Regions from separate parts of the Homo sapiens genome. Here all the other regions are linked to region 1. The links are contacts of gene promoters, found by promoter capture Hi-C in blood cells and fetal thymus (Javierre and others, 2016). All regions are on one chromosome and are shown on one strand. The core of a region is centred on a gene start or on the middle of the fragment in contact, and the rest is flanking DNA. Distances in the headings are between cores, read along the strand shown.

Region 1 (5,897 bases), core at 1,428-3,927:
CTAGGTGGACTCCCAGGACTCAGCTCATGGTCATACTTACGGCTATGATCTATGGCAGTGAAAGGACTCAAAGCAGAATCCGCAAAGGCGCCGTGGCGAAGTCCAGAGGAAACCAGGGGCAGCTTCCAAGAGTCTGCTCCCAAAAGAGTCACACGGGACACGCTCAATTCCTCCAGCAACAAGTCGTGAAAGCACCTGTGAGATGGGATGCTGCCAGGGACGCTAGGCAAATAGGTTAGGCCCAGTAAGCCACTCTCATCAGTTAGGGTGGTGGGAGCCCTCCCCAAATCCAAGCTCCCAGGTGCCAGCCAAGGGTCAACTTTGCAAGCATGACTTTCTAAAGATAGCAGTCTCCGGCCTGCAGTGTGAAGTCTTTCTGCACAGGGAATTATATATACCTTTCTCCATATTTCTAGGGGTTATTTTGTTTGTTTTGTTTTTTCTTTTGTTTTGTTTTTGGAGACGGAGTCTCACTCTGTTGCCAGGCTGGAGTGCAGTGGCGCGATCTCAGCTCACTGCAACCTCCGACTCTCTGGTTCAAGTGATTCTCCCGCTTCAGCCTCCCAAGTAGCTGGCATTATAGGCACCCGCCACCATGCCCAGCTAATTTTTGTATTTTTAGTATAGACGGGGTTTCACCACGTTGGCCAGGATGGTCTTGATCTCCTGACCTTGTGATCCACCCGCCTCGGCCTCCCAAAGTGCTGGGATTACAGGCATGAGCCACTATGCCCAGCCCACATTTCTAGTTTTAAAATGGCCAAGGGCATGGTTTGTGGTGCCTCAGGCCCAAAGCAGTTGAGAAAAATCTAGTTTACCATGGAAATAATTGTAACAAGTTTTCCAGAAAAGAACCATGAGTTATACAAGAACCCAGGTGGAGGCAGGGCAGGGGAGAAGCAGCGGGGTTCAAAAATCCTGAGCACACTAGACGGGGACTTAGTAGGCCTGGCTTCTGGGCCTGAATTGGCACTCACTCAAGTTCCAACTTGGTCAAGTGTTTCCCAGAAATAAGCCTCAGTTTTCTCTCCGAGGAAATGACAGCATTGGATTTCTTCTGTATCAGCAAGCTTTGGCTGCATAACAAAGCATCCCAGAAGTTGGTGGCTTAAACCACAAAAATGTATTATTTCCCACAGTGCTATGGGTCAGCAGTTTGGGTGGGACTCCGCTTGATGGTTCTTCTTCTGGTGTCCCCTGGCCTCACTGATGAGGCAGCAACCAGGGGACAGCCAAGACAGCCCAGCCTATCTCCTTGTGGTCCTCCGTCTTCCAACAGGCTAGCCCAGGCTTGTTCTCATGGTAGCCAGGCAGGGGGCTGAGAGCAAGAGCAGGAGCTGCAAGGCCTTTTAAAGCTCAGCCTCGAACATCACGGCACATCATTTCTGCCACGTGCTATTGGTCAAAGAGATGCCCAAGGCCAGCTCAGCTTCCAAGGAAGGAGAAATGGACTTCGCCCCTTGACAGCAGAAGCGGCGGCATAGTGAAAAGGAGGTGAACTTGTAGCTAGCTTTCACATCGGCCGTGATCTCTTCCATGTTCCCTTCATTCATTCATTCATTCATTCATTTGTTCATTCATTCCACACTTGCACACCCTCTATGTCCCCAGCATTTTACCACACACCAGAACACAAAAGGTAACCTTGCCCTCATGGGGCCTGGAGAGTAATGGGGAAACAGATGAATAACTCTGCATGTGTCCTGAAGTTATAGGGAATTCACATTTAATTTATACCTGTTTCTTTACAGCAAAGCTTTTTGCAGAAAGGATTTGAACCAACCTGCCAGAAAAGGCACAAGGAATAACATGATACATTTTAACCAAAGAAGATAATTAAAATCAAAGGAGAAAGTGTTTATTGAGCACCTACTATGTCCCAAGCATCTCCGACACATCCTCTCACTCCATGGTTTCCATATCCCCGAGTTAGTGTTATTCCCCTTTCAGAGATAAGCAAAGCGAGGCTGACTAGCCCTAGCTGAGAGTCAAACAGCTGAGTCAGGCCCCAAAGTTCACATGACATCATAGAATAGCTGTCGATGAGCTTTGGATTTGACGATGAGTTTCCCAGCAGCCTGGGGGAGAAGGAAAGTGGAACATATTACCCGATTGTTCACTAGACAAGAAAAAGCCAGATATTTCTTTGAAGGGAAGCAAAGCCCTTCCTAGCAGTGAATTCATTTGTCTCTTCTCAAGTGGGAGTTGGAAGAGAGCTTGTGGGGTGGAACACAGGGGGCCCTGCTAGGACTGTCCAAGTTGGGCGCTCCTATGGCATATATGTGAGGAGGCTGCCACGTGAATGCCCATGGTCCCCTGGAAAATGTTCGTCCTCAGTGAACATCGCCCTCGGTGTCTGTGCATGTGTACGTGTGTATGTGCATATGTGTCTGTGTGTTTCTTTCTGTCTCACTGTCTTTCTCTTTTTTATCTGGCCCTCCCCTCACTTCATCTGTTTGTTTGTTTGTTTGTTTGTTTGTTTCCACCTCTGTCCCTCCCTGGCAAAAGTCCCTGCTGCTCAAAACTCTGCCAGTTTTTAGGAAGTGCTGTTTTGTCAAAAGCCTGCACACGAGACCCCCGTGGGCCAGGACTGACTTCCTCCCCACACAGGGCTGGGCGGGGCAAGCAGGAAGGAGCCTGTTACAGTCAAGGTGACGCATCCTTGCCGGGCCAGCCCGAACAGCAGCTGGGTCGGCAAGCGACAGGAGCACGGGTCATCTTTTCCCCAGAGGCGTCGGAATGGACCTGTGCCACCCAGGTAAGCAACTGCCGTCAACCTCTCTGGGCCTCAGGGTGCTCTCTTTTAGAATGGGACAGCAGCCCCTGCCTCACAGGGTCCTAGATAAAGGAATACAGCGCAGGTGGGAAATGCAGCTGCAAGAAGCAAACATTTGTGGGCTCAGCCTGTGTGTCCAGTTGCGTTCTAGGGGCTGGACACACAGCAGTAGCAAAGCAGACGCTGTTTCCCCCTTCATAGGCTTGTGCTCTAGATGAGGAGACCGGCAGTGACTCTAATGTGATTCCATATGTCAGTTGATGGCAGGTAGGATGAAGAACAGTAAAGCAGGGTAAGGAAGACAGGAATGCATGGTGGAAAAGGCCCCAAGAGGAGATGCTGTCTGATGAGGGACCTGAGGAAGATGTCAGCTAAGGGGCTTTCTAAGGAACAAACATTCCAGCCAGAAGGAACAGCCAGTCCAAAGGCTCAGAGGTGGACTCAGAAAAGTGACTTGCGATTAAGATGATGATGGGATGTTGGTGATGGCGATGCTTGTCTGGGTGATACAAGGGCCTTGAGGCCCCTTTTTGGCCCCCGGGGGTTGGGGTGGTCTTTGGGGAGGCTGAGGACGCTGCCTAGAGCCAGGGGAGGGCCAGGAGTGAGCAACAGAGGCTCTGGTTGAAACCCTCCCCAGCTACTAAGACAATGTGTCTGGGGAGAAAGAGGAGAAAGGAGGCTGCAAAGATGGTGAGGAAAAGAACATCAGGGTCGTGTTTTGGGAGGCAAATTGAAGGCCCGGTAGAGGGGCCAAGTTTCTGCACCCTGGATGTCAGCATGCTCCAGAGCTGCAACAGTTCTGGTGAACACGGCTGCTGGAATTCCAGAACCTAAGGGCTCGTGGGAGCTGTCTGCTCCCCAGGTCCAGATGACCTCAGCCTTGTCCAGGAGCACCCTTGCTTCAAACGCACCTAATGTGGAGCAGCCTGGCCCCGCCCACTGGGCATCCCCCTTCCTCCCCACCCCCAGATGGAAGCCTCGGGCCCCAGGGAACCCAGAGAACCACTGATCCATTTCAACAGCCCCCCCAGTGGCAGAAGGGAGAAAAGAGGCCAAGGGAGGAAAACAGCCTCTCTAAGGCAGGAGCAGGACCAAATCCTGTTCCCTGAATCCCTATCCAGGGCTCACTCTGACCCCTGCCTCTCCCATGGGCTTTGGGGGCTCCCAAAATCACAGCTCAGTGAGCACAGCTTGGGGGCACCTGGTTGGCACAGGGAGACCCAGCGAAGGGCAGCACCTGGCTCAGGCCTCTCAGCAGACATGAGGGTGGGATGAGGGGGGGAGGGCACCCACCGAGATGCAACCCCCCTGCCTGTGTGTCCAGCAGGGCGCTTTGTCCTTTCGGGTCCTAACATACTGAGGTTACAGGGATGGCTGTCTCCATGTTGCAGATAAGGAAACTGAGGCTCCCAGAGGTGAACTAGAGACGGGGACTGACTTGCTTGAGGTCACACGGCCAGTCAGCAGCAGAGCAGGGACGAGAACCTGCGGGAGAGAGCCCCAGGTTGGCCGGGGCTATGGAGAGGGCAGGGGAGGGGAGTCTCTGCTTTGCTTCAGCCGGTACTAGGGAGGAAATGGATTAAATGGGGTCAATGGGTTCTCCATCGAGTAGTTGGTCTTTTCATTCATTCACTCTACAAACGACCTTCCAGTGTGCTATGCAGTGCTGGGGACAGCAGTGACCCAGCCATGGGCCTAACCCTGGGGGACAGGTGTTGGTCTGGAATGTTGGGGGTGGGGTGGAGAGGCAGGAGCCACATCCTGCAGGACCCTGACCCAGCTGTGCAAATGGACACAGACCTACAGATGGGAGGAAGCAACTTTTCCCACTGGGGCAGAGGAGATCTGGGAAGACCTCCTTGAGGAGGAGGCCAGAGGGAGGGAGAAAAGGTCATTTCCCTGTTGCCCAGACTGGGTCTTAAATGGGGCTTCTTCATGGCACGGTGACTTCCCCTCTCTGAGTTCTGATTTGTCATCTCTACGTGGGTGCCATCATCCTGGCCTGGCCTGGGGAAGCGGGGATTGGGAGTTAGCCGGACCTCGCTCAGGTTCCAGCTCTGCACCACCCTGCCAGTGGTCATGGTCTCTTCCTTCTATGGGCCTCAGTTTTCTCACCTTTATTATGGACAGGCTGGTGACTCAGGGGCCCCCAGGGCTGCCTCCCCTCCTCTCCTGAGGTGGGCCTGTGTCGGGAAGCAGGTAAGGCGCCCTCCCCCAGGGCCTGCCGGGAAGGTGAGAGGGCCAGACAGCAAAGCCCCAGTGTGGCCAAAGACAAGCACTGTGCTGGTGCAGAGAAGACAGGCAGCGCAGTTAAAAATAGAGCCAGCTCGGCTGGGGCGGTGGGGGGGCGGCGGGGGAGGAAGCCGCACTCCGCAGAGCCTGTGGGGCTTGTGGGGCTGGGGCGGGGAGCAGCTCCACCCACACCCCCTCTGCCCCAGGGTCCCTCCTACTGAGACTTTGAGGGGCCTCTTTATTTAGGGCCCTGAGATGGCATCCTCCTCCTGCCCTGGAAAGGGGAAGTGAGGCCAGCTGTCCTGGAAGCAGGGCTGCAAGCTCAAAGATTTCTAAAAATACGATGGGAAAGAGGAAGGACAAAGAGGAAGTGGGGAGGAGCCGGGGAGATGGGCACATTCACCAGCCTGGGCGCAAGGGCAGCACCAGCCTGTGGGCTTGGGGTGGGGGTTCATGTCACACCTTGTGAGGTTGTGAGAAGCACAGAGATAAGTGAGAAGGAAACGGGGTGTGTGGTGGTGGTGGTGGTGGTGGTAATTTTATTATTTGTGTGTATTATTATTAGTATTTAAAAATTCATCTCCTGGCCAGGCATGGTGGCTCACATCTATAATCCCAGCACTTTGGGAGGCCAAGGCAGGTGGATCACCAGAGGTCAGGAGATCGAGACCAACCTGGCCAACATGGTGAAACCCCCGTCTCTACTAAAAATACAAAAAAAAATTAGCCGGGCCTGGTGGTGGGCGCCTGTAATCCCAGCTACTTGGGAGGCTGAGGCAGGAGAATCACTTGAACCTGGGAGGTGGAGGTTGCAGTGAGCCGAGATCAGGCCACTGCACTCCAGCCTGGGTAACAGACAGAGACATCGTCTCAAACAAACAAACAAACA
Region 2 (5,897 bases), core at 2,404-4,903, 230 kb before region 1:
GCTCTGGGGAAGGAGTCGACGAGGCTACTTCTCCCGCTCTTTGGGATGTGGGTGGCGGAGGGGTGCAGGGAGCTAGCTGGATGGAGGAGCCCTGGGGCGCCTTCTGAGCGGGCTGAATCTAGAAGGAGCGTTGGCCCAGCGGGCACTATTTCTGAGCACCCACCCTGACTCTGCTGCACACTGCCTGCCGCGACCTTGAGTCGGACCCTTCCCTGCACTGCGCTCAGCCTCCTTCCTCATCTGTAACACGAAGGGCTGGTCTGAAGATGACCTCTAAGGTCTCCTGTCCCCCATCCGTGACCCTCCGATGCTGTGGCCTTTGGCAAGTCGCCTCACCTCTCAATGTCTCCGATCTCTCTGTAGAGTCGCATGGAAGCCCACCCTGCCTCCCTGCCCGCCCGAGTGTCCAGTGAGATAGTGACTCCTTTGGAAACTTGTAAACATCCCCTGAAAGCCTAGGGACCTGGGGGCGACAGTGGGGCTGGCTTCAGGGGACAGCCTCTCAGAGGGACATTCTTCGAGCCCTGTGCTGGGCCAGTTGCCACTCAGACATCCTCTCACCGGATGCTCACAGCAAACCCTGATTAGGGGGAGAGGAGTGAGTTTCAAAGAGGCCAAATCATTAGCCTAAGGTCACACATTCAGGAAGAGTCAGAAGCAGGGCTTGAACTCAGGTCCATCTGACCCCAGTGCCTTTTTGCTACTTTGTGCCTGCTCCATCCAGGGAAGAGCTCTCCCTCCACTCTCCTTCCCTCCCTGTGCGTGTGCGGGGTTGGCTGGGGAGAAGCCTCACTCTTCTCTCACCGAGCATCCCTCACCTCCATAGGATGAGACCGGGGCCTACCTCATTGACCGTGACCCCACCTACTTCGGGCCCATCCTGAACTTCCTCCGGCATGGCAAGCTGGTGCTGGACAAGGACATGGCTGAGGAGGGTGAGTTGGTCCAGGGGGCTGGCCTGGACCTTATGCAGCCTGCCAGGGCCCTCTGTGGAGGCCCCAAGCCATTTGGACAACCAGGACGGCCATCTGCCTGCTTGGTTGTTTCCTGCCTCTTCCCAGTCGGACGGGGCTGATTCCCAAGCATCTGCCTGTGCCGAGCCTGGGGCTCTGCCAAGCGGACGGGCTCAAGCTTTCCCTGGGTACTGTCAGGGAGGTGAAGAGACACATGTGCAGGGGATAGAGGAAGTCAGCGAGGCCCTGTGGCCTCTGCTGTGGGCTGTGACGCCCTTTCTCTCTGGCCTCCTAGGAAGCCAGGTGTGGACGGTCACATCCGGAGGCTGGGGTGACAGGAATGCAGTGTTGACAGGCATGGGGAGAGCTCTGTCTCTCTTTCTCTGGCTGATCCAGTATCTCAAATTCTGCCTGGTGAGGGCTTGTAAGTGGGTGGAGCGGGTGACTGTTCACTAAGTCTGGCAGCCTGTGCGGCACAGTGCTGGCTGTGGGTGGAGGCAGGAGAGGGGGGAGTCTGCTTCCCAGTGGGGCTTTGGTTATCCCCAGGCCTAGGTGGCCGAGGCCCTGGATATGCCCATATCCGGGCCTAACAAACAGTGGGGAGGCCATGTCTGGGAGAACGACCTGTTAGCAGAGCTGCAGCCAGGGGCAAGGACTACAGTCAGTGCCAAGTTAACTCTTCTTTGGGACACAGGGTGTGGCTCTGGGTCAGCTGATCCAGCCAGACCAGCTTGAATATGTCACTTCTCCTCACTGCGTCTCCACTGGTATCTATTCAATGGGGGCGGTGATCTGCCTTCTGGAGGGAGATGTCATAAATCCTGCACCTGTGCGTGCCTTCCTGCTCTGGGCCATGGTCTGCCCTCCCTGAGCCCTATGGGACACAGTGGTCTGGAGGCCCAGCAACTCTCTAATAGGTCAGGGCCACAACACCAGAGTCCACTGTAGGTGCCTGGCCCTGCAGAGCCCCACAGCTTGCCTGTTAATCCCTAGGGGAGCACAGATACCATGGGCGTGGCCTAGGCTCAGGAGCAGGCCCCATCGGGAGGGAAGTAAACACCCCAGCTGCGTCGCAGCCAGCACCTGTTTACACGCCCTGCATTCTCAAAGCCCTGCTATTCCCACACCGTCAGACAGCGCTGTCTGGGGGCTAGAGGATCAGACAGGGTTATCTGGGGGCTAGGGGATCACACAGGGCTATCTGGGGGCTAGGAGATCACACAGGGCTATCCGGAGGCTAGGGGATCACACAGGGCTATCCGGGGGCTAGGGGATCACGCAGGGCTATCCGGGGGCTAGGGGATACACAGGGCTAGGGCTCATCCAGGGGATAGGGGATCTGAGAGGAGACTTACTAGCTGTGTGACACTGAGAAAGTGACCTAACCCCTCTGTGTCTGCATGCCCCCATCTGTGAAATGGGGGACCATAGCACCCACCTCACCGAGCTGTCATGAGGATAAAAGGAGTTAATAGTGCAGCATGGAGCTCAGTTCCTGGCCGGAGGATGTGGGATGCAGTGCTAGCTGTCTGTCACCTGCAGGGCTCCGCCCAGGGCACTGGGGATAATTCTCGTAATCAGGCAGCTGCACTCCCTGACCTCCTGCTCTGTGTTTGGTCCTGTGTGGGCACCGGGGACAGAGGGCAGATCAGAAATGTGAGCCCCATCTTAGCCATTTCAGGCTGCAATCATGAAGTAACATAGATTGGGTGGCTTATGAAAATCAGAAATTTATTTCTCTTGGTCCTAGAGGCTAGAAACCCGAGATCGGGGCACTGTGGCAGGTTCTGGTGAGGACTTTCTTCCGGATTGCAGACTGCTGACTTCTCGTTGTGTCCTCACATGGCAGAAAGAGAGGGAGCTAGCCCTCGCCCGCCCCTTCTCGAGAGCTTGTTTGGAGGTTCTAGCAGGGGAGCGCAGCTACTCACATACCCTTGACCAAAGTCCGGTCCTCCTCTATCGGGGGTGGTCGCCCCCTTCGATGGAGCTCACAGCTTCGGGAGGGACACACCTGGAGCAGTGAGGGAGGAAGGGGACACACATCTAGCCAGCCAGATCAGCTAAATCAACCCTGGTGATCAGTGGAGTGACAGATGTCCCCGCCAGATCGCCCTCACATCCAATTAGCCTTTCTTATAAGAAGACTGATCCTACCCTGGGGACTCTACCCCCATGATCTCATTACCTCCCCTCCTAATCCCATCACAGTTTTCAGCAGGTGGATTTTTGGGGAACACACACATTCTGCTCATAATGAGCTCTGTCCCCAGGGAGCCCAGAGGCCAGTCAAGGAAAGGGCCCAAAGGTCCCCTGCCTTCTGGGAGCCTAGGGGAGTCGAAACAGCTGCAAGCTCATCGCTTCACTGGTGGGCTGACTTCTTCATCTCCCAGATTAACTTAACTGTAAGATGGGGACAGTAATGCCTGCTCTCCTCATATCCCTGGACTTGTGATGAGCTCGTGCAGGGTGTTGCAAACTGTAAGGTGAGGCAGTTGGGGGAATGCATGGACACAAGGGTATGTGCTTACAGTGGGGAGACATGGGCTCTGGAGTCTGCAGCGCTTGAGTTCCCTCTGGCACTTACCAGCTGTGTGACCTTGGACAAGCTGCTTCTCTTTGGGAGCCTCAGTTTTCCCAGTTGTTCAATGCAGATGATGAAAGTACCTCCTTCTAGTTCTGAGAATTCAAAAATGTAATGCACCTGGCACTTAGAATGTGCTTAATAAATAGGAGCACATAATCAGGGGTCAGGCAAGGCCCTGCTCATGGTGACATTCTGGGGATCAGTCCCAATGACCCTGCTGTCTCTTGATAGCCCTAAAGCTGCCCCAGACGGTGGCCTGGCAGGTACCCCTGGGTCACCGCACTCAGCACAGCAGAGCTGTGTGGCAGCCCCTCAGCCCCTTCCACAGGAAGTGTGGGATCCAAGGAAAGAAATGCTCCCTCTTACTTGACCCCTGAACTCACAGACACTCAGCTCACCCTCAGGGCGGGTGATCAGAGCGAGAGGTGGGTTTCGGGGTGGAGGGAACAAGAGGAGAATGGGGCATGGAGGCAGAAGGAGTGACCTGGGATCTGTTCTGTCTGTGCCAGGGGTCCTGGAGGAAGCCGAGTTCTACAACATCGGCCCGCTGATCCGCATCATCAAAGACCGGATGGAAGAGAAGGACTACACGGTCACCCAGGTCGGGAGCAGGGGCAGCACACACGGCCAGGGCAGGGGCCAGTGGGGAGAGAGAGGCTGAGAGACGGGGCGGGAAGCAGAGGAGGTTGGGAGAGACAGGACCAGTGTTTGTCATGGGGAGGCCGAGCTGGCCTGTAAGGAGAGGCATGGTTGGGCTGACAGGCTGCCCAGCACAGCCCCAGACTCGGAGACGGACACTGGGGTTCAGTCCCTGTCTCAGCCCCATTTGCTGTGTGTTGGGCCAGGCTCGCCCTCTCCGGACCTTGATTTTCTCTTATGGGATAGAGAGGGGTGGGAATGGCACACCCATCCCTTCCTCATAGGCAGAAGGGGGTCAGTGTGGAGGTACAGGGTGCCCTGCAGAGGAAAATGCAGGATTAGCAAATTGTGCCTTTTGTGGCATCAGATGGTCGCCTGGTGGGCTCGGCACAGGCTGTTGGGGCTGGCGTTTGTGACCTTGGAGCCTGGGCCTCCCTGGCCAGTCTGCAGGAGGAGGGAAAGAGATTTTCCGCCTACTCTGGGGGATGTGTGAGGGTTGGGGGACAGGTAGTGAGGAACCATTTCTCAGGCCCAGGGGATTAAAGAGGGGAGGCTCCGTGTCTCCTTGAGGGCCTGACTCCTTGAGGGTGACCCAGAATGTTCCCTAAGCCCCACCCATGTTCTTTCTTGAATTACCCGTGTTCCGGTTCTGTCTCCTTCACCCTTGAGCTGGGTGACCTTGGGCAAGTAACTGGACCTCTCTGAGCCTCAATGGAAAGTCCCGTAATGCCTAGGATTCTTGGAAGGATTAAGTGAGATGGTGCCTGGTAAATGCCTGGTGAGGAGCAGGTGCTCAGAGCATGGCTGCCTCCCCCCAACCACCTCTTCTTTCTCTCCCTCTCTTCTTCTTTGGGTATGTTGCGGGGGTGGTGGCAGCAGGTGCTCATGCCCCTCCTGGGGTGCCTGGTGCTCCCACAGGTGCCCTCTATGTGACCCTTCTGCCCACAGGTCCCACCCAAGCACGTGTACCGCGTGCTGCAGTGCCAGGAGGAGGAGCTCACGCAAATGGTCTCCACCATGTCTGATGGCTGGCGCTTCGAGCAGGTGCGCTGGGGACAGGGGCGTGCCACCAGGACAACCCTGGGACCTCCTAGCCTCTGACCAAGCAGGCCCCTCCCTTCCTGCAGCCCCAGCCTTGGGTTCCCCACCACAGTCTCCCCCAACCCCAGGGTTCTTCTGAAATCAAATTAAACAAGGTTAGGAGAGACCACACTTGGTGGCAGGTTGACCGAGAGAGAGGATAGGAGCCCCAGTGGCCATAGGACAGCACGGGGTGTCCTTGTTGGTGGGAGTCCTCACAGCAACTGGGTGGTGATCTATCTGGTGGCATGAGTGAGTCTGTGGCCCCCGAAGGACAGCTCAGGTGCAAGGAGACCAGATCCACATAGGTGAGTGGAGTCCACATTGAGTCAGTACCTCTTAGAACTCAGAGTCAGCATCATGCGATCATAGCAGTTCCTGACACAGTTTTCAGGGTCTCCGCAGGGGACATGCCCAGTGGCCAGCATTGCAACATGCAGGGGAGCCCAAAGCAGTGCCTTCCCATGAGGTCTTTATGGTGAACGGTGGTTCCTCCCAGTCCAGATGCAGTTTACCCATCGGGAGATCCTTATCCCGAGGGACTTTATCCCTAGTCATGCAGCTGACCTCCCACCTTTCAGGTTTCCAGAGGAGCAGAGCCAGAAAGTGAGCCCAGGGTCAAAAGTGCCTTTAGAGAAGGA
Region 3 (5,897 bases), core at 1,997-4,496, 220 kb after region 1:
GCAGAGATAATCGTCATTATGCCTACTCCCTGGACAAAGAGCATGTTGTAAAACAGCCAGCAGCTGGCCTTGCAGTTAATAACTAAACCCTCCCACATTTCCCAGAGTGTACAAGCCAAAGTCCACACTTTCCCAGCCTGACTCAGGAAGCCTTGACTTTCGCCCTTCCCCCTCGCTCCTCCTCCACAGTCACCGGATGCTCTCCCTACCTGCCCTCTCCTCACAGCTGAGTTCCAAGACCACAATGGCCGTGCAGCCCCCGCTCTGCCCCACCCCTCCCTTAGATACACTGGCAGGTGTGAACAGCGGCCACGCACCGGCCACACTAACAGCACGTCGCCTACAGTGCACTCTGCACTAATGGGCTTTGTGACTCCTGTTATGGACCTGTGGCTGGCCCGGTCACAGGGGCTCCTGAGGTGACCCAAGCCCACCCACAGCATGAAACTTTGCTGGGTGGCTCAGTCCCAGGGACTCAGAGCCAAGGGACTGACAGGCAGGACATTGGGACGAGGACAGCTTGTAAGTGACAACTATTACTAAGCACCTGCTACATGCCTGGCAGAGCTGGGTGCTTTGCTTCTGCGAGCAGAGCCCTCAAAAGACCTCCATGCAAAAAGGGTCATCATCTCCCTTTAGCTACTGAGGAAATGGAGGCCCAGAGAAGTGAAGGGACCAGCCCAAGTCACAGGGACGATCAAGAGCGGCAGCAGGATTGGAATCCAAGGGCTGCCAGTGTCTACAGATCTTAATCTTCCAATAGTTGCATAAAACAGGGGCGAGGCAATTGCTCCTCCCACCTCACTCCTGTTCCCCTCTCAAGCAATCACCCCAGCTCCACCCACTGCAGGCAGCTACAGTACCTGTTGAGGAAGTCCAGGCCACAGCCCCGAGCCAGGAGGCCTTCCGGCTTTCCCAAAGGCCACACGCTGTCAGAGGATGAGGACGAAGAGAGGCCAGGGGACCAGGGCTTAAGTGTCACACTCCCTGGGGAAAAAGAATGAGGTTCAGGGATCTGGCACTGGGAAACAGGGATGGCCAGGGTCCATGACAGGGACTGACCCCCCTCCAGCCCAGAGAGGCCTTGGCAGGTTTGAGGCCCCAGGAGCACATCAGACCCACTGGGCTCAGAGATAGGTCAGGGCCCACCAGGCTGACCCCGCAGTTTCCCAGAAGAGGGTGAAAGGTGGCCCAGAACTGAAGAGCCTCGTACATCACAGCCGGGAACAGGAGTGAGGCCCAGGACTGGGCTCGGGGTGAGAGGCTGGAACCAAAGTCCCCAGGGTCCTCCCAAGCACAACCTTCCTGCCTGGCAGGGGCCACGGCGGGGCTTCAGGGAAGGGGATGCAGGCCAAAGGTAGCGCAGGTGGTGCAGGCTTCAGGTGGGCTGCAAAGCCACCTCCCCCGACCAGAGGAGCCCTCCCCACGGAACTCAAGGGCTGTTACCTGTGATGTCTGACATGCTGCTGAAGGATCTGGGCAGAGAGAGGGCAGGGAGGGGGCAGGAGGTGAGGCACAGTGGGCACTCTGCCCCGCTCCCTCCTCCTGCCCCCACACCAGATAAATGTCTCACAGCCCCCAAGCAAATGCAGGCTAGACTCAAGGCAGGGTCCCAGGTACAGGGCACCCATGCCACCTGGCTCCCCTAAACTCCCAGGGTAAGAAGTTAATGTCCTGGCCTCTGTCCAATGTTGTTCCACCTACAATGCCCTGGCATGCCCTTCAAAGCCAGCTCTTTCAATGCCACCTCCTCCTGGAAGCCACCCCTGATCTCTCACCCCTCACCTCACCCTCACTTGCCACCTTTGTGGTTTGTGACTCCCAGGTACGCCTCCTAAATTAAACCATGACCTCCTCATCAGACACCTCCTTGGGACAGATTTACGCAGATCAAGGCCATACTGACCACAGCCTCCCAGGGCCCAGCCTCTCACCAGTAAAGGAATAAATCAAGGGCTGCTTACAGGGGAAAAGCAGTGACAAGGATCGCGCCCCAGGAGGCAGGCTATCTCCCGCCCTTGGTCTTGCCACCAGAGGGTGCGCCTTGGTTTTTCTGGTCCCTATTTGCTGCTGATGCCCAAACCTGGGGCCTGGCTTTCTTGCCGGAGGTCCCTGATACCTTGAAACATTCTCCACGCCCCCTAGTCCTGAACCATCAAGCTTCTCCTTGGGTATAGGATCTTCAAGGCTTGACCCCCAGTGACCCTCCTGCCAGGATGCTTGGCTAGGACTGAGTTCGCTCTGCCCATCGGCCTTATCTTAAGCCTGACCTTGGTCGCCCCTGTGACTCACAGGACCTGGGTTTCCAGAGCTCCAGCCATCTGAGGGCAATAAAGGGAAGTGACTGCCTGGACCTGACTTTGGCATTGCAGATTCTGGGAGGTGGCTGTTCGGGAAACGGCAGCCCCACCTCCCTGGGTGTCTACTGCTATCCCCAGCCATCTCACCTCTTAGGGGGTGCGGGGTCTTCCTCACGCTGCCGGCGGAGGATGGAGCCGGCACTGGGGGGGAAGGGCAGGATGGAGAGCCGATTGATCTCCTTTTCACTGTCTGTGGCTTCCTCCTGCAATGCCATGACAGGGCCTGGGTCACCCCCACTGCCCAGCACCATCCCAGTCCTCAGCACACCTGGTTTGTGCCCATTCCACAAATGAGAAGTAGGGCCCAGAGCAGAAGAGCGGGCTCTGCAAGATTATAGTGTGCGGGTGGCTCCCCACGCCTCCTGGCACCTATGCCTGGCAAGGAAATGGTTCTGGGTGAGCTTCAGTAAAGTACTTGGCCTCCCTGCGCCTCAGTGTCCTCACCTGTGAAATGGATCCTTCAGAAAGCACTCTCCACATTAGTAATAATGCTATAGCAGTGTCCCCCCTTATTTGGGATGGGGCAGTTGTCTTACCGAGTTGTGAGGCTCAGGTCCCCCCATGACAGCTGCCTCCCCAGTTGCTTCTGGGCCTCCCAGAGGGGAGGGGAACTCGCTCAGGCTCCAAGTGCTGCTGAGGTTGGAGCACAGGGAATGGGAGGAGGCACAGGCCTGGAAGAGGGAGAGGAGAGGAAGGAGGTGAGCAGTGCTAGGCCCACGTCAACCACAGTCCTTTACTGAGCACCTGCCATGTGCCAGCACAGGGACAGATCCCTGTCCTCAGGGAGCTCACAGCCTAGAATGGGAGATAAACTGTAAACCAGCAGACATGTGAACAAAATAGCCCCAAGCTGAGACAATAGCAGAAGGAAGGTGCCCAGGGCATGGAAAACACACAAAGACCCCACCCAGCCTGGGAGTCCAAGTACTCTCCAAAGAAACTGTGGTTTGAACTGAGAACTCAAGGGTATAGAGGCGCTAAGTAGGTCAAGCTGGGATGGTCCAGGCAGATCAACAGCATGTGCAAAGGCCCTGAGGCAGGACTGTGATGCATTCCAGTTGAAAGACTGGAACCCACAGAACCAGGCGAGAGGACAAGAGGAACCCCACCCGCAGGGCCTCTTGGCCATGAAAAGGGACTCTGTCTTTACCAAACAGCAAAAAAGCCACTGGGGGTTAAAAAAAAAAAAAAGTCTTGGATTAATGCTGACTTTTCCTATATTCCTCCAGGCCCCAGTGCTTCAAACACCAGGCCTGCGGAGCTCACTGTCAGGCAACTCAAAATAAGAAAACGCAGGCTGGGCGTTCGCACCTCTAATCCCAGCACTTTGGGAGGCTGAGGCAGGAGGATCCCTTGAGGTCAGGAGTTTGAAACCAGCCTGGCCAACATGGTGAAACCCCCATCCCTACTGAAAATACAAAAAAAAACTTAGCTGGGTATGGTGGCAGGCACCTGTAGTCCCAGCTACTAGGGAGGCTAAGGCACGAGAATAACTTGAACCTGGGATCCAGCCTGGGTGATACAGCAAGATTCTGTCTCAAAAAAAAAAAAAAAAGGAAAAAGCAGAGCTCCCGGCAGCAGCCTGAGGACCACGATCCAATTTACAGTGGGTCTGGGACTCCAGCTCCAGTGCTAGCTGGCTGTGTGGCCTTGGGCAAGCCCCTCACCCTCTCTGGGCCCTGTGCGATGAGAGGATTAGACCAGCTGGTCTCTGAGGGATGCTTAGGCCCATGTTAGTCCTGACTAGCTGGTCTCTGAGGCCCAGGTTTTGCATTCTAACATGCACACAGGCACTCAGGCAGCCAGCCTTCCCCAGTTAAATGCAAAGACCAGCTCCAAACTATTCTTAGTGTCCCAGAAGCAACCCCAGAAACTCAGAGACCAACATGCCCCTCCGCCTGCTCACCAGCCCACACCCAGCCCAGCCTGGGTTCAAGTTCCCGCCCCTAACTGAGGACTCTTCCCACTTCCCCCAAGCTTCCTCCCCTGGCTGAGGTCTCCCACCAGGGCCGGCACGTTCCCAGCCCTGGCCAAGAGCTCCTGCCAGGACCCCAGCCTTCCTGCCAGGACCTCCACAATCTTGACCCGCTCACCTTGAGGCAGGTGCCACCCTGGGCCCGCTGCAGCTGAACCTCCAGCAGAGCCTTGGTGCCCTCCAGGCTGGTGAGCGTTGTCAGCAGCTCATCCCGCTCCGCCTCCAGGCCCCGCACCTGCTTGCGGTACTGGTCCTTCTCGATGAGGCTCTGTGAGTACTGCAACTGGATCCGGTCACGGCTCTGGATGGCCTAGGGTTGGGGGAGGGGAGGCAGCAGCTGAAGGAGCCACCTTGGCCCAGCTTTCCTGGCCTATGACTTGGAGAATGGGGACAGTAAGGAGAATGGCAGCTATCACTTACTGAGCACTGTGTGCCGGGCCCTGAGCTAAATTATCAGCTCATTTAAATATCTTCACACTAACTGGCTAAGTTAGATACTATTAATATCATTATTCTCATTCTGCAGACTGGGGAAACCAAGCCAGGAGCGACAGAGCTGGGATTCAAATCGGGCAGTCCATCTGCAGAATCCAGGCTCTCACCATTTCACCAAGAACTGAAAACTTTTCCACGAGACCTGCTGTGTGCCAGGGGCTTCACTCCCAGCATCCCAGTCAGTGGAGAAGCCAGGAGTCAAACCCAGCCCACTGCATCCACAGTGAAGACCAGGGGCTCCAGAGCTGGGCCCATGGTCCAGACCTGTCACCCATGCCTCAGAGAGAGCCGGGGGCAGCCCCATAAAATGCAGATTCCTGGGGCCCACCCCAGACCACCTGAATCAGAACGTCCAGAGAATGAAGCCCCAAATTTGCACTTTCAAGCTTGCCAGGGGATTCTGAGGGCATTTCTAATATGCAGACTTCGGCTGGGCATGGGAGCTCATGCCTTTGATCCCAGCACTTTGGGAGGCTGAGGCAGGTGGATCAGTTGAGCCCAGGAGTTCAAGACCAGCCTGGTCAATATAGTGAAACCCTGTCTCTACTAAAGATACAAAAATTAGCCAGGAATGGTGGCATGCCTGTAATACCAGCTACTTGGGAGGCTGAGGCAGGAGAATCACTTGAATCTGGGAGGCCTCAGTGAGCTGAGATTGCACCACTGCACTCCAACCTGGGCAACAGAGCTAGATTCAGTCTCAAAAAGTAATAACAACAATAATATACAGACTTCAACTCCTCTAGTGGGATTCACACCTGGTTAAGGACAAAAACCTCCTGCCCTTCCCCGCTGCAGATGGAACCTCACACAAGGAGGCTCGGGGGCCTGGTGGCACTGGCCGGAGGTCCTCAGCCCACCCCACAACCTTGGCAGGAGACAAGGGTCATAGTGCCCAGGGACTGAAAGCCAAAACTTTTGAGAATTTCTTCATCGGCTTCTATTTGTAAGCACTCCCTCTGTGCTGGCCTTGTCTTTGAGATGGACAGAACAAGGGATTCAAAAATGAAGACACCAGGACCAGCTTCTGTAACTGCCACAGGAGCTCAGATGAGGCCAGTGGGTCC
Region 4 (5,897 bases), core at 1,657-4,156, 160 kb after region 1:
TGCTGTCAAACAAGAAGGAATCCTCTCGAGTGTGAAATATTAAATACAACCAAAGCAGGGTCTAGGCCGTTTGTCTGGACAACTTTCCAGTTCTTGAGTGTGCTGTGTGGGATATCTTCTCTTCTGACAGGTACTGGAAGGAGGCTTCCATGATAAATCACCTTTTTGTCACTTCTGAGGCTGTGTCTAATCCCCAAATCCCAGAACAGGCACTTGTGGGTGCCATCTCTGACCGCCTGCAGCCTAGCAAGGGGCTATTGGCTTTGGGGAGATGAAGAGTGCAAGGAAAGAAGCTGTCTAGATAGGAAACATGAGCTGCTGGCCGAACTAGCTTGCCATCAAGACAGCCGGGACCATTTGTCCACTCAGCAAACAATGATTGAGGACCTACTACGCGCTGGGAACACAGGGCCTGGAGGCATGAAGGTGAACAGAAAAAAAAAAAAAAAAAAAGACAGAAGGATTGCAAACAGAATCATCACTCTCAGTGACACAAAACCTTGTTTAAAAAATTGTGATAAAGGGCTGAACATGGTGGCTCACACCTGTAATCCCGGCACTTTGGGAGGCCAAGGTGGGCAGATTGCTTGAGCCCAAGAGTACAAGACCAGCCTGGGCAACATGGTGAAACCCCGTCTCTACAAAAAAAAAAAAAAAAAATTAGCCGGGCATGGTGGTACGTGCCTGTAATCCCAGCTACCTGGGAGGCTGAGGTTGGAGAATGGCTTGAGCCCAGGAGGCAGAGATTGCAGTGAGCCAAGATTGTACCACTCCACTCCAGCCTGAGCGAAAGAGCCAGACCTTGTCTCAAAATAAAAAACAAACAAAAAAATTGTGATAAAATATACACAACGTAAAGCTTACCATTTTTAACCTTTTTAACTTTTGTTTGTTTGTTTTTGAGATGGAGTCTCGCTCTGTCACCCAGGCTGGAGTGCAATGGTGCGATCTCGGCTCACTGCAACGTCCACCTCCCGGGTTCAAGCGATTCTCCTGCCTCAGCCTCCTGCGTACCTGGGATAACAGGTGTGTGCCACCAGCCCAGCTTATTTTTGTATTTTTAGTAGAGACGGGGTTTTACCATGTTGCTCAGGCTGGTCTTGAACTCCTGACCTCAGGTGGTCCACCCACCTTGGCCTCCCAAAGTGCTGCTGGGATTACAGGCGTGAGCCACTGCGCCGGCCCATTTTCATCATTTTTAAATACACAGTTCACTGGCATTTAGTACGTTCGTGTTATTGTGCAAACATCACCACTGTCCAGTCCATTTCCACGCCTTTTTCATCATCCCCAACATAAACTCTGTACCCATTCAACGATAATTCCCCAGTTCTCCCTCCCCACTGCCCCAGGTAACCCCTGATAACCTCTGTTCAACTATCTCCATGAATTTCGCTATTCTAGGTACTTTATATGCATGGAGTCATACAATATTTGTCCTTTTTTTTTTTTTTTTTTTGAGATGGAGTCCCATTCTATCACCCAGGCTGCAGTACAGTGGTGCGATCTCGGCTCACTGCAATCTCCACCTCTTGGGTTCGAGCGATTCTCCTGCCTCAGCCTCCCAAGTAGCTGGGATTACAGGCGCCCGCCACCACCCCTGGCTAATTTTTGTATTTTTAGTAGAGACAGGGTTTCGCCATGTTAGCCAGGCTGATCTCGAACTCCTGACCTCAAGTGATCCACCTGCCTTCGCCTCCCAAAGTGCTCAGATTATAGGCATGAGCCACTGCACCTGGTCAATATTTGTCCTTTTATGTCCGGTTTCTTTCACTTAGCATAATATTTTCGAGGTTCACTCATGTTGTAGCATGCATCAGACTTTCCTTTTTCAGGCTGAATAATACTCCACTGCATGTCTACATCGCATTTTGTTAGTCCGCCCTGTGTTGATGAATACTTGGGCTGTTTCCACCTTTGGCTATTGTGAACAAGGCTGCCACAAACATAGGTGGACACATCTGTTTGAGTTCCTGCTCCCAGTCCCTTATGTGTCTAGGAGTGGGACTGCAGGATCATATGATGATTCTATATTTAACTTTTTTTTTTTTTTTTGAGATGGAGTCTTACTCTGTTGCCCAGGCTGGAGTGCAGTGGCACGATCTCGGCTCACTGCAACCTCCACCTCCCGGTTCAGGCAATTCTCCTGCCTCAGCCTCCTGAGTAGCTGAGATTACAGGCACCCGCCACCACGCCTGACTAATTTTTGTATTTTTAGTAGAGACAGGGTCTTGCCATGTTGGCCAGGCTGGTCTTGAACTCCTGACCGCAAGTGATCCACCCCCCTCAGACTCCCAAAGTGCTGGGATTACAAACATGAGCCGCCACACCCGGCCCTATATTTAACTTTTTAAGGAACTGCTAAACTGTCTTCCACAGCAGTTGCGCCATCTACGTTCTATTATTAATTTTACATGTTATATTTGATTTAGTTTTTTTTTTTTTTTTTTTTTTTTTTTTGAGACGGAATCTCACTCTGTCGCCCAGGCTGGAGTGCACTGGCACGATCTCGGCTCACTACAAGCTCCACCTCCCGGGTTCACGCCATTCTCCTGCCTTAGCCTCCCGAGTAGCTGGGACTACAGACGCCTGCCACCACGCCTGGCTATTTTTTTGTATTTTTTAGTAGAGATGGGGTTTCACGGTGTTAGTCAGGATGGTCTCGATCTCCTGACCTTGTGATCTGCCTGTCTCGGCCTCCCAAAGCGCTGAGATTACAGGCGTGAGCCACTGCGCCCAGCCCAATTTAGATTTTTTAATGATGACAAATCTGAGTTTACCTAATTGGTGGTGCACACGGGCACCCTGTGCCATCCTGTAGTCCAAAAGGTCACAAGTTTACGCGATGCTCCTCTGGAGTGTTTCAATTCTAAGATTCTGCAACTGAAGGCTGAAATTCTAAGATCTTTTCATGCTAGGATTAAGACCTGTGGCATTCCATTCTGAGGTTCAGAGAGACAGGATCTGTGAATTCACTTCCAGACCACCATGGTGTACGTGGGCTCAGCCTGCCCTGTCTTCTCCACACTGCTTGGGAGGAAGGCTGCCAGAGGCTAGGCAGCTAGGGAGGGGCAAGAACTCACCACCACCAGCAGCTGCAGCCATGGAGCTGGGACTGTGGGAATGGAGAGGAAGAAGTGGAGATGGGGACAGATGGAGGAGGAAAGAGCAAGACCTGGGGACCCACTGGAGAGAGGACAAAAGTCCCAGATCCCCTACCTGCCTGACTGGGGCTGGTGCAGTCAATAGGAAGGGCTGAGAGAAGAGAAAACCATTCACTCATTCAACAAACATCCACTGAGCACTGGGATGCCAGCTGGGAGCGGGGCCTATGGGGATGGAATGACCCAGCCCTGCCCTGTGCCCACTCTTGTGTGTCTCTACTTTCACCGAGTCTAAGCAGCCTGCCAAAGGTCTCCCCAAAAGAACCACTGCCACTCAATCATAGCCACCATGCATGCGGGGTTCACCCCATGCCGGCTTCATTCTGAGCGCTTTACCTAGATGATGAATTCTCACCACCTGCGCTACTTTACAGGTAAGGTGACCGCAGCTCAGAGAGGCTGAGTAGCTTCCCCAGGATCACACAGCTGGGGAGTGAAGGAGCCCACACTCGCCACCCCAAACTGCCTCTCTACATGCACAAGCCTTCTCTGAGGATCCTGAAGGTGAGACGTGGGAAGGGACTGACACACATTCCACAGAATCGGAGGTTTCCAAGTCCTCTCAGGGGGGTTTCCAAGTCCTCTCATCAATATCCCTCCATCTAGCCCCCTCAGGCTGTCTCTGGGTCCCCCTTCCTTCTGCCCAGATCCCTGCAGTGCCCACCCCACCCTCTGCAGCAACAAATTTCTCTTCCTTCCGGAAAGCAGTGGCTGATATGCCCAACCTACCATGGCGGCCTCCACAGAAAGCCAGGCCCTCTCACTCCCCGTGAGCAGTCAGGGCTGCTAAGAACAAACATTTTTCCCCTTTGTCACATAGAGTAATAGACTCTTGAAAAATCACATTCTGGGAGGCTCATGGCTGAATCTTATAATCTGAGACTCTCCATCAAAGAACCTCAGAGCCACCGACTAATAGAATCTCGAAGTCAGTGACTGGAGAATCCTACGATGCTGCACTCTCTCCATCACTGACTGGACAACAGCTGGTGTCACAGAGCAGGGCAGGCAGGGAGGCTGAGGGATCGGGGGGGCAAGAAAAGCCTTGGGGTACAGAGGACAGGGTGGGGTGCTGGAGGGAGGCCCAGCCTGTTGTCATGCTGGAGGAAGCAGTTGGTGGGTGAGGCCTGGCTTTGTTACTGATGGTTTTTAATTATGTAAATCAGCCCAGGGCCTGCGCCTGGCACAGGCTTGGCATTCATCAGCTGGCAGCAGAATTAATCAATAAACAACCAGCTGGATGGGCCTGGGCATGAACACCCAGCCACGCCCCCACCACCCCTCCAGAGGGGTCCTCCCAGGTGGGCAGGGGAGGAGCTACACGGAAGCTGCCGCTCCCGGCTGTCAGTGCAGTTGCACACACGCACGCACATGCACCTTGCGTGCGTCGGCAGCTTGGACTCACTGTGCATATGCACAGGTGAACACACCTGCACATACAGAGAGGTGTGGCATACAAAGCACGCACTCAGACCCTCCGCCCCCGCAGCCCAGCACACATGCAGGAATACAGCCGTAAGAGGCGAGGGCCTCGTTACAGCCTCACATTTCACAGCTCACAGCCACGCCATTCCCCTCTACAACCCGCCCTGGGAGGCTGGCTGGGATGGGCTGGGCTGGGCTGAAGCCCTCGTTTTACAGATGAGGAGACTGAGATCTAGAGAAGGGACTTGCCCAGCATCCTCCCCAGGGGTCCTTCCTCCCAACCCACCTCACTCCAAGGTACAAAGGGGCTGCAGGCCCAAGAGAACTGAGGAAGGAAAGTGAGAGGCACAGGCGCTGGTGGCCCCAAAGCTTCTGAGGCAAGGTCCCCTCCCTGAAAGCAGGGCCCTTGGTGACCTGGCAGAGAACAGGGCAGGACAGGTGACCCAGTGGGGGCACAGGCGGGGGCCGGGCAGGAGCAGGCGGTGGAGCTGGGCACCAAGGCCCTCTCTGCTCTCCAGGGAGCCATGATGGATGGCTGCCTCCCAGCCAGCGTGCTCACTCCTGCTCCCAGGGCTGCCCCATAAATCAGCTCCCTCATCTCTGCCGTGGCTGTTCCTTGATCGCTTTTCAGCATCGAGGGGAGAGGGGGAAGTTCACCATCCCTAGCGGCAGGAGGGGGCTAGCAGCGAGGATCATAAAATTAATAGAAAGCTTTTCTCTTCCCCTTTTTGCCTTCTCTCAGCTTCCAGCTTTCTGCCAGCCTCTACCCCTCTCTGGCTGGGTCTCACTAAATACTGAGTGAGGAAATAGGACCTGAGGCGTGGATGAATCTCCGAGACATCTAGCACTGTGTGTCTCTGTCGCAGCCTCAGCCACGGGGTTTCCTAGCAGCCCCCAAAGACAAGGAGAGGAAGCAGGAAGGTGTCCTTCCTGGTCCGAGCAGATCTCAAGTAGCTCTGGAAGGAGGCCAGGAAAGGGCCTTGAGTGCTAGGGACCCCTTTTAGAGATCAGCCTTTTGGAGCCCCCCACCCCTTGGAGAAGCTGATGAAGGCTGTGGGTGTCTGTGAAGGCCCTGGGAACTCGACGCCACACAGCGCAGCAGTCAGTAGTTCAGCCTCTGCGGCCAGCCTCCCCAGTCCAATTTCAGGCTCTGCCCCATAGTAGCTGTTTCACCATGGGCAAGCTGCTTCCCCTCTCTGTGCCTCAGTTTCCTCATGTGCAAAGCAGGGTGAGTTACAGGACCTGCATCCTAATCAACAGATACATATTCTTTAGAAGAGTCACTGGGGATTATAGAGTTAAATGCTC

Evidence for each region. Contacts are between HindIII fragments. The CHiCAGO score rates a contact against its expected background, and 5 or more counts as called.
Region 2: a fragment that was not itself captured here is called in contact with the fragment with the promoter of CYTH4 in region 1 in 1 of 17 cell types (activated CD4 T cells); the score reaches 5.2 in activated CD4 T cells.
Region 3: a contact is called between a fragment that was not itself captured here and the fragment with the promoter of CYTH4 in region 1, in 5 of 17 cell types (non-activated CD4 T cells, naive CD4 T cells, total CD8 T cells and 2 more). The highest score is 8.0, in non-activated CD4 T cells.
Region 4: a fragment that was not itself captured here is called in contact with the fragment with the promoter of CYTH4 in region 1 in 2 of 17 cell types (non-activated CD4 T cells and naive CD4 T cells); the score reaches 5.7 in non-activated CD4 T cells.

The regions. Positions count from the first base shown.
Region 1 is chr22:37,279,831-37,285,727 of GRCh38, forward strand. CYTH4 (cytohesin 4) reads left to right here and starts at 2,678. Exons shown (of 13, transcript NM_013385.5): 1 at 2,678-2,758. The coding sequence starts at 2,740. RefSeq lists enhancers at 2,437-2,486, 4,033-4,082, 4,695-4,804 and a silencer at 5,035-5,154. The HindIII fragment of the contact is 11,420 bases long and covers 1,755-5,897 here.
Region 2 is chr22:37,052,274-37,058,170 of GRCh38, forward strand. KCTD17 (potassium channel tetramerization domain containing 17) reads left to right here. Exons shown (of 9, transcript NM_001282684.2): 2 at 827-935; 3 at 4,047-4,138; 4 at 5,125-5,220. It also overlaps the pseudogene RN7SKP214. Among named protein-coding and RNA genes, the nearest start is that of KCTD17, 3.5 kb to the left of the region's middle. RefSeq lists enhancers at 1-354, 355-1,071. The HindIII fragment of the contact is 5,049 bases long and covers 1,130-5,897 here.
Region 3 is chr22:37,501,739-37,507,635 of GRCh38, forward strand. It overlaps CARD10 (caspase recruitment domain family member 10), which reads right to left. Exons shown (of 20, transcript NM_014550.4): 7 at 4,454-4,645; 8 at 2,897-3,031; 9 at 2,448-2,563; 10 at 1,447-1,475; 11 at 864-987. Among named protein-coding and RNA genes, the nearest start is that of CARD10, 15 kb to the right of the region's middle. RefSeq lists enhancers at 324-923, 924-1,521. The HindIII fragment of the contact is 2,177 bases long and covers 2,159-4,335 here.
Region 4 is chr22:37,444,392-37,450,288 of GRCh38, forward strand. No RefSeq gene overlaps it. Among named protein-coding and RNA genes, the nearest start is that of ELFN2, 20 kb to the left of the region's middle. The HindIII fragment of the contact is 4,099 bases long and covers 858-4,956 here.